Regions from separate parts of the Homo sapiens genome. Here regions 2 and 3 are each linked to region 1. Evidence: promoter capture Hi-C in 16 types of primary human blood cells and fetal thymus (Javierre and others, 2016). All regions are on one chromosome and are shown on one strand. The core of a region is centred on a gene start or on the middle of the fragment in contact, and the rest is flanking DNA. Distances in the headings are between cores, read along the strand shown. Region 1 holds the start of AKAP1 (A-kinase anchoring protein 1). Region 2 holds the start of MTMR4 (myotubularin related protein 4). Region 3 overlaps DYNLL2 (dynein light chain LC8-type 2).

Region 1 (4,589 bases), core at 1-2,500:
GCGGGCGGATCACGACGTCAGGAGATCGAAACCATCCTAGCTAACACGGTGAAACCCCATCTCTACTAAAAATACAAAAAATTAGCCGGGCGTGGTGGCAGGCGCCTGTAGTCCCAGCTACTCGGGAGGCTGAGGCAGGAGAATGGCGTGAACCTGGGAGGCGGAGCTTGCAGTGAGCCGAGATCGTGCCACTGCACTCCAGCCTGGGCGACAGAGCAAGACTCCGTCTCACAAAAAAAAAAAAATAAAAAATAGGGCTCTTTTTCTTTCTTTCCTATGTCAGTTTCCTATTTGTTTCCTTCCTGACATCTACCACACCATGCAATTGGGATTCATATATATATGAATTTGACTTAAATCTCATTAGGTATAGTAAATGGCATCTGTCATTTAAACTTGCATTTGATCACTAGTGAAGATTAAGCATTTTCCCAAGTAATTGTTAGTTCTTAGCATGATCTATTTTCTATATTTTGGCCAAACAAATGTTCATTTAAAGTCACTTTGTTTTAAGGATGACAGCAGGGCTGGACAGCCAAAACCCTACCCTCTCCATTTATTTTGGAGGAATTTATTTTCCCAAGGTCCTGGCAGAGATAGTGACTCACCGTGACTATCTCTGCAAAAATCATTCCAAAACCCACACCAATTCAGAGAAAAGTGCTTCATTTCGATAACATCGACTTGTGAAAACGAGCAAGAAAGTTGCATTTGAGTGGTACCAGGTTTCACCATTATGCAGTTATCGAGCAATTATTAATGGCCAACCCAATTATACGCTACAAGGAAATGACGGTCACAGGGAAGCTCAAAGCCCCGAAGCGAGGGAAGCCCTGCTCCTCACCGGCCCCTCCGCCTTTTCCAGGGCGCTCTCCGTCCCGAGGCAGGAGATGGCCTGGTTGACCCTTCGAGACAAGGCGGCAAAACCGGTGCTGGGCTTGCGGGGCAGGGAATCAAGGTTCCTCCGGTTGCTGTACCGTCCCGCCCGGCCCCTCTCCCGGGCACCGGAGAGATGACGGCTCTCTCGCGAGAGCGCGAGCAAGACCCGGCTCCGGGCGGCGGCGGGATGTTAGCCCAGCGCTGTAGACCGCGCCCCCTCTGGCGCAGCTGGGAGAGGCGCGGCGGAGGCACTGCCGGGAGCGGCCGGCGGCGCGCACGCGCAGGTGAGCGGGGCGGGCTCGGGAGCGCGCGGGCACAAGGGCGAGGGGCGGGGCCTGCGTCGCGCTGCGGGCACGTCGCCGCGCGTCTTCAGTATTTAATGTCTCTGTGTTCCACCCGCCTGGGCTAGCACGTGGGGGAGCTGCGGAAGCGCGGCGCTGCGGGCCGGGCCGCGGGGCACAGCCGGGGGCCGGCGGCGGCGCGCGGACTCCGCATCCCGCACCCCGATGGTAGCCGAGGAGCTGGTAGGTCGGGGGCAGCTGCGCCGGGGACCCCCTGCCGGAGACCCGAAGGCGGCGGGGTCGGGGCGATGGGGAGCCTGAGGTGCAGGTGCAGGGTGCGACGCGCCCTCCAGGTACCCCGGGGGCGGGACGCTCCGGACGCAGAGGTGTCCTGGGGGCTCTCGGCCGCCGCGCGCTGTCAGGCAGGCCCATCTTTCCCTCCCTCGTCTGCGCCCCCTCTCGTCCTTCCCCGCCGGTTGTCTGCCCGCGGGCTCCTGACAGATCGCGTGTGCGCGGCTCTGGGCGGCGCTCTGCGGCCGCGCCGTCCTCCCCACGCGCGTCACTGTCCTCGGGGGCGGGGGGCGAGGGCGCGACGCCCGGGTCGCCTCTCTGCACCTCAACTTAACCGGAGCGTGCACACCCGCCTGCGAGGCTGACCCGAGCGCGTCCCACCCAAGGTCGCCCAGCCCCGCGGGCGTTTACTTTTCAAAGGTCGTGTGTACACAGTCTGAGCCGGAGCTGCCCCTTCACTTCTGGAGCCTCGCCCAACTTCTCACCCTCGGCTCGCCCGCCGGCGCAGCCCCTGGGAGTTCCGTGCGGCGAGCCAGGGGAACTGGGAAGATGGGCCGGGACATCGGCCGGTTGTGATCCAACCGTGTTTCGGGCTGAGGGACCGTTCGAACCGAATTGGGGTCTGGAGGTCGGAGGCTCAGGGGCGTCTCGGGGGGAATTTGCATTCGTAGCCCCTGCAGGCGTGTCCGGAGGGGTGGAGGCCGTCCAGCCTGGGGTGTCTGCCGACCTCACGCCCGGGGGCCCCGACGGTCACGTGTCCGGCCCCGCCTGCGGCCCAGGGCCCGGGGTCTGCGATCTGGAGGGACCGCGCCAGTTTTGGGGTTACGATGTGCTAGGAGAGGCAGTGGCTGGATGCCTCGAACGCGGGCTTTCTGGCGTTCAACTCTTTTGTGCCCTAGCTGAAGGTCTTCCTGTTTCCCTTCCAGGGAGGGATAGGAGAAGAAAGGTGCTGATCGTGGTAGGCGGTGCTGTGGCGACTCGGAACGGCATGGGAGCCCTGGGCGTTTCGGGATCTTCCTCTCCTGGGGGATGTCCTGGGTGGCGGCGCCTTCCTGCCGCCGTTAACACAAACCCGGTGGACTTCGCTCCAGGTGCGAGTCGAGGCCTCTCAAGCTGGGTAGGGTGTATGCGCAGGGCAATTAGTGAGGTTAACCTGGGTATCTTTCCCCTACTGTAGTGCGCGTTACTTCGTGTTTAGATTTGTCTCCAGTGAAATCTAGGCTGCTGGACCTGGTGCAACAGTATCTGTTAGTTACTGATCAAGGAACACCGTTCACAAAAAGCTATTAATTCTGGCAACTAGTAGCCTTACAAGCTCTTGTAACTGCTAAGTCCTTCCCAAATTAGTACCTTTTTTTTTTTTAACTCTTTATTTAGAAAGCAAAGCTTGGACTCTTAGCACCACCCATCCACTTTGCTCTTAAAGGTACAGAACATCTTTGAAATGAAGAAGGCTGCCTGACTTGATCATTTATATAATTCCTCTGATCTTGGCATTGAAGTGGTTCACCTGCTGATTATTTAAGACCCTGAGCACTGGAAGCAAGTGAAGTTATGTTTTGGGAACCTTTTGACTTGTGTTGAACTTTTCTTTAACCTCTAACTAGTTTTGTAGGTTCTGCATAATTCTTGGGTGTATTCTCTTTGAAATATGGCCCTAGGTTAGAGGAGGTCCTCTGGATCCTACAGGCATGCAAATCACTAAAGCTTGAGTCCATTACTGGATTAATAGGCTCTGTCTTCATGCATGTTGTCAGATGATGGCTCAGAACTTGCAGGTAACAGATCCTAGCCAATGAGTGAGACAGGTCTAATGGATTTGTGTCTAGGTCTAGTTCCTTGTAGGAATATCTCTCCCATCTCCCAGTTGTTTCTAGGAAATGCATTCTCACTTGGCCACTGCAGGGTGACAGTGGAGGTGTCTGTTGTAAGTGGCCTGCTCAGGTGCTGAAGTCGATATGTCTCCAGTGTAAGGTTGCTGAACATCAATATTTAAAAGCAATTTATCTTGCTGCCTGGTAACCCAAATTATTCTTGAGCTTTGGACATAGGCTGGGTTGCAGCCATATTTTAGGGGAAGGCTGGTGTTAGCCTCTACAGTATTCCCTTTTCCTGTCCTAAAGACAAATGGAGATCATATTTGTGATACTGGGGACTGTGATAGGTGCTTAAGCATTGCTCTTCCCCTCTCCTCCCTGAACAATCCCTGAGACTGACTTTGTTTCTCTTGAATTACTTGAGTGACTTGAATTCTATTAAAAGCACCCCTCTCCTTAGCCTCTGACCCAGAAGCTTGTTTGGGAGGAAAAACGAATTGGTTTCCCTAAGCTTTGCTGGCTAGCCTCCTGCTCCCAGCCTGCAACATGACTTGATTGTGTGTGCATTTCAGGGCTTTGAAGAGCAGGCAGCTTGTAGCCAATGTACCCAGAGAGCTGGCCGTAGAGTTCCCCTAGGTCACTCCTTCCTAATCTTCCCTGTGAGTCTGAATGATTGGGCCTTTCTGTAGCTTGGTCTGTTTTCCTATTGTGGGGAAGTCAGTTGTTTCAGGTATGAGTTAATACCTTCAGCTTGTCATTCTCAGGCGTTTTCTTCCACTATGGGGAGGTAGTAGATCCTGTGGGCATCTTGTCCCATTGAAATCATCTCATATACTGTTTGAGAGTTGCTCATCTTTATGGTGGGGGGTGTATTTTAGTCCTAAATCTTGCTTCTTAGGGCAAGTTCTGTTTCTTCCATGTTCCTTCCTGGTGTAATACCTCAGGCAGTTTTCACTTTTATGATCATTTAACATTAAGTTCCCATCACATGTGGCATCCCACTGAAGGAACCTCCTGGCCTTGGTACCTAATTTGAAGCTTGGGCTGTGGAAAACATCATCAGTGAGCATGTTTGAAGTAGGACAGAGTCTGGCTGGAGAAACAGGTAGTGGGGGAGCTGGGAGCTAAACTTGAGAGGATGCCTCTTTCTTGATAGTTACTGTGCTAGGTGAGTTATGAGCACACTAATCCTTTAATCCTCACACCTCTGAGAACAGTGAGGGTGAAGCTGGAGGTCATTCTGGATTGTTTCAGTGGCTGTCACACAAATTCAAATTGAGGGGTAGAGGAACTAGGAAGCGTGGGTGTGGAGTTAAAACTA
Region 2 (4,589 bases), core at 612-3,111, 1.4 Mb after region 1:
AGAGTTCTCTCCACGGTAACAGCACCAGGCAACAGCTGTACAGGAAAGCTGCCTTTCCTTCCCTGCGGCCAAAGGCTCCAGGATGCGCAGACAAACCCTCCTCCTCCAGAGACCAGGGAACATGAAGCCAGAGCTCTGGTACCAGATGCCCTTGAGGATTTTTGGGAGAAGGGAGGGTGTTTTTTAACTGGGCAGGGAGCCCCATCTATCCTGGCCCCCAACTCCTCCTTACCTGAAGATTCTCTTCCTCCTTCACTAGTTCCTTGGGGGGGAACAGATCCTTGGCTTGGATGTACTCCAGGCTGGGGGGCCCCTCCTCACCCTGTAGGAAGGCCACAGTCCTAAGTCACCAAGCTCCACTTAGCCCATCAGGCTCATTCTGCTCCTCTCCCCACCAAGAAATCCACAGATACCCACACACACACACCTCTAAAGGTTCTGGTCACCAGAGAAGGGAAAAGAGATCTGACTTGGTTGGAGACAGGGAAGGGTGAAATGGAGAGCATATCAGCCTATTAAGCCTAAGGAAAGAGTGAGGCCCCAGGAGGAATTGGGAATCTGCACTCTTCAAAGAGGGACTCTCCTATAGAACCAACATTTCAAAAATGGAGGAGAGAAAACTAAGGAAAAGAAAGACTCTTTCCCTTAGACCCGCATAAGGGTAAGGCAGGAGTGGGGATGGGAAAGTGCTGTCCTGAGGAAAAGGAGCCAGGTATGGCAGCTGGTTTCAGAGAGAAGGGAAATCAGGCGCCTACAAGCCACTGAAGCTTCAATCTGGTGGGTGAAGGAGACAAAGAGGAGTGGGTGGGGGGATTCAGTCCCACGCCTCTAGAGGGCCTTCACCGACGCTTTCAAAAGGAAGACGTGTTTGAGAGCTGGGCTTATCTTCTTGTTAGACCCACATTGCTGACAAGCCCCCATTACCTGCCAAGTAACCTGCTCTGCCTGCTAATCAGAGGGGAATTCCTGAGGAATACCCACAGCAAGCAAAAGGAACTCCCCTCCCAACCACCAGGGAGGGGACCCGGGGGGATCCACGCGCCTGGGAGGAGCCAGGAGACCCAAGGACAGCCAGGGGAGAGAGAGAGAGGAGGCCCGGCAGACACCCACGGGGAAGGTGGGGGGACAGCTGAGAGGACAGATGGGGGAAGCTGGGAAGGAGCATCAGCCAGAGCGGGAGGAGGGGAGGACCGGGAATGATGCAGAGGTACGGAACCCTGCAGAGGCAGGGAAGATGGAGAAGAGAGGCTGTCTGGGGGACAGTCAAGGAGAAAAGGCTGGCATGCCAGGTGAGGGATGGAATGGTGGAAGAGGGAAGGGACTGGAGCCCCAAGCCAGCTCAAAGACATCCCGTGCTCCCCGACCAACCTCCTAACATCCCATTCAGCCTACTAGCCACATCCCACATCCCCAAGCAAGGATTCAGCGGGTGGGACCAAGAGGGAGAGGCGGAGGTAAAGGGATGTACCCCTGCAGGGCGGGGCCTAGAGATCTGCAGTCAAGGGCAGTGGCTGCGGGGCCAGGATGGACCACAGAATTTCCATTCCTGGCCTTCGACCATCTCCGGCACCCAAAGATTGAAGCAAGTCCAAGAAATAAAAGGGTTAACCCACCTTCCCTGCCCCCCAAACGTTCGGGGCCGGGCCAGGGGCCTCGGGAAGGGGGATGGGCTGAAATCGAGGGCTGACCCTGGGCGGGGCTGCGGGTGCCTCCTAGGCCCCCAAAGGCAGGGTGGGCACTTACGAAGCAGCTAAGCATGGAGCAGGAGACGCGGGCGGTCAGGCTCATGGTCGCGGGCGGTCTGGGCCAGCGCACATGTCCCCGGAGCCGCTGCGCTGCCCGCCAGCCCCGGGCGCCCGCCGCATCCCGGCTGCGGGGCTCGCCAGGTGCAGCCGCGGCGGCCAAGAGGCTAGGGCGCTGGTGGCCGGGCCTCCGCGCGGCTCCCGCGCGCCTCTCCCCTCCTCTCCACAATGGAGCGGGCCCAGCTCCGCCCTCCCGCACGAGTGCAGAAGGGAGGGGAGCCAGGCGAGGGGAGAGCCCGGGACCGCGGCGGGAAGGCGGAGGTAGAGGCGGGGCGGCTCCGCGGGCCCCGCCCACAAGCCCAGCCTCCTCCCTCCCCGCGGACCCTGGGCCTCGTAGGAGGGCGTACCCTACTCCAGGGACCTTTAGGAGCTTTCAGGAATCTGGGCTACGGGACCGCCCACATCTTCTCATTTCCCTTCTTCTAAGGTGAGCCACCCCATGCCCTCTTACAAACCCATCCCCGCGCCCCCTCCCCTAAGTTCCCCCGACGCCTGCTCTGGATCCCAAGGTGGAGCTCACCTACCCGCACCCCATTTGCTTCCTCCTTTCCCTCCAAAACCACTACCCACCATGCCCCTGCCCATCAGGGTCCTTCAATCCCGTGACTTCGTTAAACCTTTCTTTCCCCTTAGAATGGTGCCAGGTTAGTCATTCCACGCTCCTGGAAAGGGAAATGAGCTTTTTATTCCAACGCCCCTACCCAACCCTACTCCTTCAGCTCCATCTCTCCCTTGTTTCACATTCTGATCTCTGGGTAAGAAAGCCCTTCTTGGAGGAGAAAGGATTTCTTAGTCTGGGAAAGTGAAGAGCTAGAAGTATCGACCACAGAAGCTATACAAAAAAACGAAACTTGAAACCCAGGAGCAGCGGAGTAGAGAGAGTTGGGTAGAGGGCCAAGGAATAAGGACCAGGAATAAGGGGCTCAAAATGTCACCAAGAGTCACAGAGGGAGGTGGCTGGAACCCCAAACTTCCTGCACCTTGTAACTTTCAGACACCAGGGCTTTTGTCTTGTTTGGGGGAGAAGGGAGTAATAAAAGAAAACCTGACATTTTATTAAGCATCTACAATGAGCCAGGCAGTTTCTAACATTATCTCAGTAAAACTTTTCAAGCCCCAAGAAGTAAACCTTATCCTGTCTTACTCGTGAGACTCAAGCTTAGAGAGAAAGTATGTAATTTAACTAAGTGGTGGTGCTAGGATTTGAAATTAGATGAAGCTGACTGTGAAGCCCATGCTCTTTTCAGGGTAGCCCAGAAGAGAAAAAGAGGAGCTATCTGTTGGTGGGGGCCAAAACCAGCAGGCTTTCTGAGAAGAGACTGAACCAATAGTGCACACACCAAATCCACATGTCTATGGAAGGAAGGGAGGGAAGGAGGAAATCCTCTCATCTACTGAATTCTTTAACCTGCCCCTAAGCACAAGGGACACCTAAAAGACACCGAAGAGATACTACCAGGTTAAGGGCCTGGTCTGGGCCAGGGCCTACAGCTCTCTAGGCCTTTCCCATCTCACTGCCTCCTCCTAGCTCTTAGGAGTTAAGGGCTTCCCTGGACTTGGGGTGAGAGAAGGGCTGTTACAGTTAATGGAAAATTAATAGGATCATTGTAAACCACCTCTGGTGATATTCTGGGCACCCTGAAGATGCTATCCTGATAGATATTCAATCAGCTGTCACCTGTAGTGGCTTAACAGCAGCACCCTGGAACTAGAGAAGCCCCACAGTTTTGGTGGAGTCACTCCTGATATAGCATCCACAATATTCAAAGGACCCACCAGAAGTCCAAAGATCTTGAGATAAAGAAGGCCCAGCTTTTCAGACCAGAACACAGAGATTCTACCGGGGACCCAAGAAAAGCAAGAAGAGGGCTGTTATGAAGGGTTAATAGAACCAGTGGTGGGTAGGGAGTAGGAGGAAAGTGTGGGGCCTAGCACATGCAGAAAATGATTTCTAGAAGCTTCCAGTCCCAGTGCTGTATACTGGCTGATGTTTTGCAATCTAAAGAAACCCTAATTTATCTCCAGGGCAGATGAACATGTTTAGGAGCTGAACAGGGTAGCCTGGAGCTCAAGGTCTAGGACAGGTGGGGCAGCTTCACAGAGAAAGACACATGGATTACAGAAAACACAATGGCCTGAGGAAAGACAGGGTACTCACCATTCTACCGTGGCAAGGGTACTGGCTGCCTGCTTCTCACTGTAAGGAGACAGAGGAACATAAAAGTAAAGGACCCCATTAACATTACCATAGAATCAACAAATGACACACATCTACCCCTGACCTTCTCTACAACTCTTATTCTTCTCCCTCACAGAGACTCCAGTCTCTCCACAAGTCACCATGCCAGAGAGAGGCAATGGGAGCTACATGAGGAGAAAGCAACAAGTGATCCTGCAGGGCATGAAGTCAGCCACGAAGTTCTGAAACAGGAATGAGTGTCATCCAAGATTATTCAGCAGAATTCAGGAGTCCTGATTTCCAGACGCAGAGGGAGAACACTTCTTTCTCAGGGAGCAGAACTGCCAACTATGAAGAGACACAGGCTGCCCAACTGGGGCTCATTTTAGGCCCTGACTCTTGGGGTGAAGTGGCAGTAGTTGAAGGAGCATGAATCCACAGGAATGTTTTGCCAGTCTCTGAGTCTGGGAGTAGTACCCACCTGACCTGTTTACTGGGGGCAGAGTCCAGAGTGGGACAAGAGGGAGGGGACCACAACCTGTGATCAGAGGGCAGCAGGGCTGCACAGGTCCTCCTGAGTGTATTTGACACCAAGTGGGGTGGAGGTT
Region 3 (4,589 bases), core at 1,332-3,831, 1.0 Mb after region 1:
GGTGGTGGCTCCCCATTTGTGTCATGTGTTTGACAAATGGTCCTTTATTCCACTGGCCTCTTGATTCCCTTGCTGAAGAATCCCAGGGTGGGCTAGGGGTGGCGTGAGGGGGTGGGGTAGCTAGAGGGAGGAGAGATGATCAGGGTGTAGAGTGCTGGAGGCTCAGGGGAGACGAATAATGGAGGCTTTGTGGTGTTCCATTATTAATGAGGGGAAGAGTGTCCTGGCCAGCTTTAAAACCTGAGCTTTTGAGGTTCGGGGAGCTGAGGCTGAGGGATGGGGTGGGGGTGATAACAACCAAACGTGTCGGTGCTGGAGTTGCAGGGAGAGACTCCCATTCTGATTTCTCCTTCTCCAGCTACCCTAATTACCTTTCTTCTCTACCTTTGTTCTTTTTTAGGAATTTGACAAGAAATATAACCCTACCTGGCATTGTATCGTGGGCCGAAATTTTGGCAGCTACGTCACACACGAGACAAAGCACTTCATCTATTTTTACTTGGGTCAAGTTGCAATCCTCCTCTTCAAGTCAGGCTAGGTGGCCATGGTGAAGGTGTCAGTGGCGGCGGCAGCGATGGCAAGCAGGCGGCGTTGCTGGGACTGTTTTGCACTGGAGCCAGCATCAGGATGTCCTCTCCAATGGCTGTGCTACTGCATGGACTGTATACTCGATTTCATGTGTATGTCGCAGTAAACAAAACCAAACCTCTTTCTGTTTAGTTGCCTGGGGGAAGAAGGCTGCTTTATGTTTATTTTTCAAGACTTTAAAAATATTTTTTGGTTGTATTGCACTAGGAAATCTCTCCCACCTCTCCCTTTTCTCTTTCTTTCCCTATACAAAATAAAAGGCCCACCATAGAGACTAGGCGGCCGAAAGACTAGGAGGGCTGAGGAAAAGAAATAGGTCTCTGGAGGTGGAACTAAAACTGTGCAGCTGCCTCTTCCTGGCGGTGGATGCTGCTTTGGGAGGGCCAGGGAGGCTGCAGGGGGACAGTGTTGGGATTGTCAAGGAAAAAGGGGTAGGAAGGAAGGTGGAGGGATTGATCTAGTACCAGGGAGAATATTCCACTGAACTGTGATTCTATGGCTTGGGGCGGAGGGTGGGGTGGGGATGCCTTCTTTAGGGGCCCTGAGATGTGTTTGTCTGTGGTGTGTGGGAGTGGGGAGCAGATTTGTCTTGCTGTCTTTGTCAGAATTTCTAAGTAAGGGCTGTGTCTTTGTGGATTACCTTCTTTTGTTCTTCCTGCCAGAGATCATGACAGGAGGATGCTGGGGTAGGATTAGCTTGAATCTTTTTTTTCTTTACATTTTTCTCCTGTCTGCTCCCTGCTTAGCCCTCAGTTTCCTCATTCCTCTGGAGTTCTCTTAGAGCAGCCCCTGTTGTTAGTTGGCTGGCAAGGGAATTTCTGGTGACTGTAGTTCCTTAGTTAGGTCTTAGCAATCAAACCAAATTGATGTCTCCCTTGACTCTTCTGTGTATATGTGTGAATATGTGTGTATATGTGTGTGTATGTGTGTGTGGGGTTTGGGGTAGAAGGGAGGGAGGGGGCAGGACAGTGTGGAATCTCTAGGGTGTATGGGTAGGTAGGGGGCACAGTTAGTTCTAAGTGGGCTTTTATGCTAAAAGCCTCTGGGGATATCTGTTTTGAAAATAAAGATAGGTGTCCCCTCCTTGCTGTCATCTAGCCCAGACACTCTGCTTGCTCTCTGGCTGTCTGCTCCCTGGGAAGGCTTTAGGAGGACCACCCAGGACAGGATGACCATGCTGCCATCTGCTCTGGAGCTGGGTCTCAGTGCAGAGGGACAGTGACTGTGGATGGTTGCAGTCTCTGGTGGGAGGTGAGGATAGAAGTGATAAAGAGCTAAGAGGAGCTTCTGGGAGCCTTGGAGGAGGTCAGTCTTGCAGTGGTGAAGCCAGGACATAGGAGATGGAGCAGGGCTGTGAGAGGAGGAGATTCTGAGGAGGATGCAGGGGAAATCTTGTCTGTTAATGAAATAGGAGTGGGGTGGGGTTTGGGGTGGGGTGGTCATTGCCGTTTGAGCTGCTGATTTTCATGAGTCGCCTTCAAAACTCTCGTGTAGGGTTGACAATGTGGGGGGGTGGGGGATCCAGCTTATTCTTTTATTTTCAAGTCCATTCTTGGGGCTGGTGGGGAGGCAGGAGAATACCCCTCCCTAAGCCCTTAGTGTGTGCCGAGCTTGCTTTGTGATGTTGGCAGGGGAGGGGAGACCTGGGTGGTGACTGAGTTCCCTTTATCAAACCCTTCAGTGGGCACAAAATTGAGTGCTTGATTTTAGGTTTTATTTTTTTATGAATGTCCAAATCTGTGTTTCCCCCTGCCCTCCCAGACTGTGTGGCCAGTTGAAAGTGTCTGGTTTGTGTTCATCTCTCCCTCATTTCTGGAGCAGGGCCTGAGACCCTGCCACATCTCCTATGCTCTGCATCCACGCCTCTTTTGGACATTAAAGGTTGATTGATGCACCTCTGCACTGTTTGGGTCTCTTTGGGGATGAGGGGTTGGCATGGTGGCAGTGGTGCCACACAGTGGGTGAGGGTGGAGAGTCTCCAGGGTGGAATAGAATGGGGACTGAAGGGAAGACCAGCCACTAGATACTGATTGGCCTGTAGCAGCACTTATTTGTGCCTAGGCTTATGCCCCTTAAGTAGAGGAAAACTAACCAGCAGCACTCACCCTTAAGGGCTCCTGGGTTCTGCCTTCCTTGGTGGTGATGGCCAGGTGAATCATATTTTGTGTCTTTGGGATAGTAACTGCTACCTTCCCAGCTGCCGTCATGGACCTGCCTGAGCTTTGCTGCTTCAACTTTTGCCCAAAGCTCTTATCTTTCATACTCCTCCCTTCTCGGCTTTCCTGAACCTGGAGACTATTTAGCAAAGGGTCTGGCCACTCAGAAATGGAAAGCTGGGGATATTTAGAAAGATGGCACCTCTTTTGGTGGAACCTAAGTGATTCTCTGAATCCTCTGTTGCCCAGACACACAACTCGAGAAATCAGCAGTGCCAAGACTTCTGAGAGTGTCTGCCCACCCCTGACTCCACCATCGTGTGACTGCAATTCTCTTGGAGGTGTTAGGGAGCCAGAGGTGCTTTGCCCTCTTTGTGTTACTATTTCTTTACTCAAAAATATTTAAGAGTTCTTGTATGCTTGGGCCTAGGATGCTGTTCACAGAGGAGAATGAGACAAGTAAGTTCTAGGCTTCTATGACATACACATTCTTATGTGTAGAGCAGACATACACACACTGATCAACTTTTTCCAATAGTGATAAATGTGTTATCAAGGAAATGAACTGGGCAATGAGCTATTGAGTGTTGGAGGTAGGTAGATAGGGTTCCTCCAGTTAGGAAGGTGGTTGGCTGATCTTGGGGAGAAGTTCTACCTCTGGGGCAGTGAGGTCCTAAGGGATTAAGTTGAGAGACTCTAGAGCCCCAACTTCTGTTACTGCTTTAGCTGTCGTGAGTAATTTGACAGAGCTGGAGCTTTGGGAGGGAGAGTGAGGCCACAGTTCACATTTCATCAGGGATGAGTGTCTCCAGGGCCAAAGCTCATCTACTTTCTTCCCTGATGAAAGAGGCAGTCCAGGTGGCATCTGTGAACAACACATTCCTGCACAGGTAGGTGCACAGTGCTCATCTGGAAGACTAATCCTGCAGGGCTTCCTGGAGGAGATGAGCCTCCACTTTTCGGGGCCCAGGATGGGAAAGTATGTGAGCATGTGTCACTGAAGGGACTGTGGAAAGCAGATGGAAATTGTGGAATTCTCTCGGAACAATGCAGCCATTATTAGAACTGTGCCCATAGGAGCATCAATATCCCTGCTCCTTGTATCCTGTTCTCCAGTCTTCTGGGGACCCCCTTTGACTGAACCCAACCAAATGGCAGATGACAAGGCAGACCCAGGATGCAGTCTGTAGGGTTCAGTCCCCCTCCCCACTGGGAACAGCAGGAAAGGGCAAGGTGGTGACAATCTAAGGGAGGCAAATGGATAATAACCAGCATGGTAGGGAATCTTCTTTGTTGCTGTGGCACTGTCGATCTCTGTTCCCTGAACTCTAGTGTCCTCCAGACTAGATTTAAGGTGTGGTTCCCCGCTAAATTATTCTCTCACCTCCTTTCAGTCTTTGCTCAAACATCCTTTTATCAGAGAGGCTTTCTGACATCCTGTGCAAGATAGCACCTCTCCCCCATCGCTGTTATCCTTACCCAGTTTAATTCCACGTAGCATCTGCCAACGCTTGACATATTTGTTTTTTGTTTACTTTCTGGCCTGTGACAACTAGAATATAAGCTCTGTGAGAGCATTTTTCTCTTAACTGCTTATCTTCAAGTAAACAGAACAGTGCCTGTCCTGTAGGAAGTGTTTGATACATACAGATTGCTCAAATGAAAAAAGAAGGGTGCGAGCAAGCCTGGACAGGCCTGGTGCCCCAGGGCAGCCTTGCCTTTTCTGAAGAGAATGGCTGCCTTAGGCACGGCTCTCCTTGCTGCCCAAGCCTTGCCACCTTGAAAGGCGTGAGAGGGTCACTCCCAGGTGTATTCAAGCAAGAGTGCCTGAGCCACTCTTGCTTG

The links. The method cuts DNA at HindIII sites, captures the fragments that hold promoters and counts their contacts. A CHiCAGO score of 5 or more calls a contact.
Region 2: a contact is called between a fragment that was not itself captured here and the fragment with the promoter of AKAP1 in region 1, in 1 of 17 cell types (non-activated CD4 T cells). The highest score is 5.4, in non-activated CD4 T cells.
Region 3: a contact is called between a fragment that was not itself captured here and the fragment with the promoter of AKAP1 in region 1, in 2 of 17 cell types (monocytes and fetal thymus). The highest score is 6.3, in monocytes.

What each region holds. Positions count from the first base shown.
Region 1 is chr17:57,083,996-57,088,584 of GRCh38, forward strand. It overlaps AKAP1 (A-kinase anchoring protein 1), which reads left to right and starts at 1,251. Exons shown (of 11, transcript NM_003488.4): 1 at 1,251-1,403. It overlaps AKAP1-DT (AKAP1 divergent transcript), which reads right to left and starts at 1,043. Exons shown (of 3, transcript NR_186437.1): 1 at 845-1,043. RefSeq lists enhancers at 708-787, 1,827-2,329 and silencers at 1,008-1,587, 1,628-1,927, 2,208-2,297. The HindIII fragment of the contact is 3,215 bases long and covers 1-2,835 here.
Region 2 is chr17:58,512,620-58,517,208 of GRCh38, forward strand. It overlaps MTMR4 (myotubularin related protein 4), which reads right to left and starts at 2,019. Exons shown (of 18, transcript NM_001378067.1): 1 at 1,744-2,019; 2 at 233-322. The coding sequence starts at 1,788. RefSeq lists an enhancer at 823-882 and a silencer at 1,743-2,202. The HindIII fragment of the contact is 2,193 bases long and covers 766-2,958 here.
Region 3 is chr17:58,088,742-58,093,330 of GRCh38, forward strand. DYNLL2 (dynein light chain LC8-type 2) reads left to right here. Exons shown (of 3, transcript NM_080677.3): 3 at 401-4,589. The coding sequence ends at 538. Among named protein-coding and RNA genes, the nearest start is that of DYNLL2, 7.6 kb to the left of the region's middle. The HindIII fragment of the contact is 8,795 bases long and covers 1-4,589 here.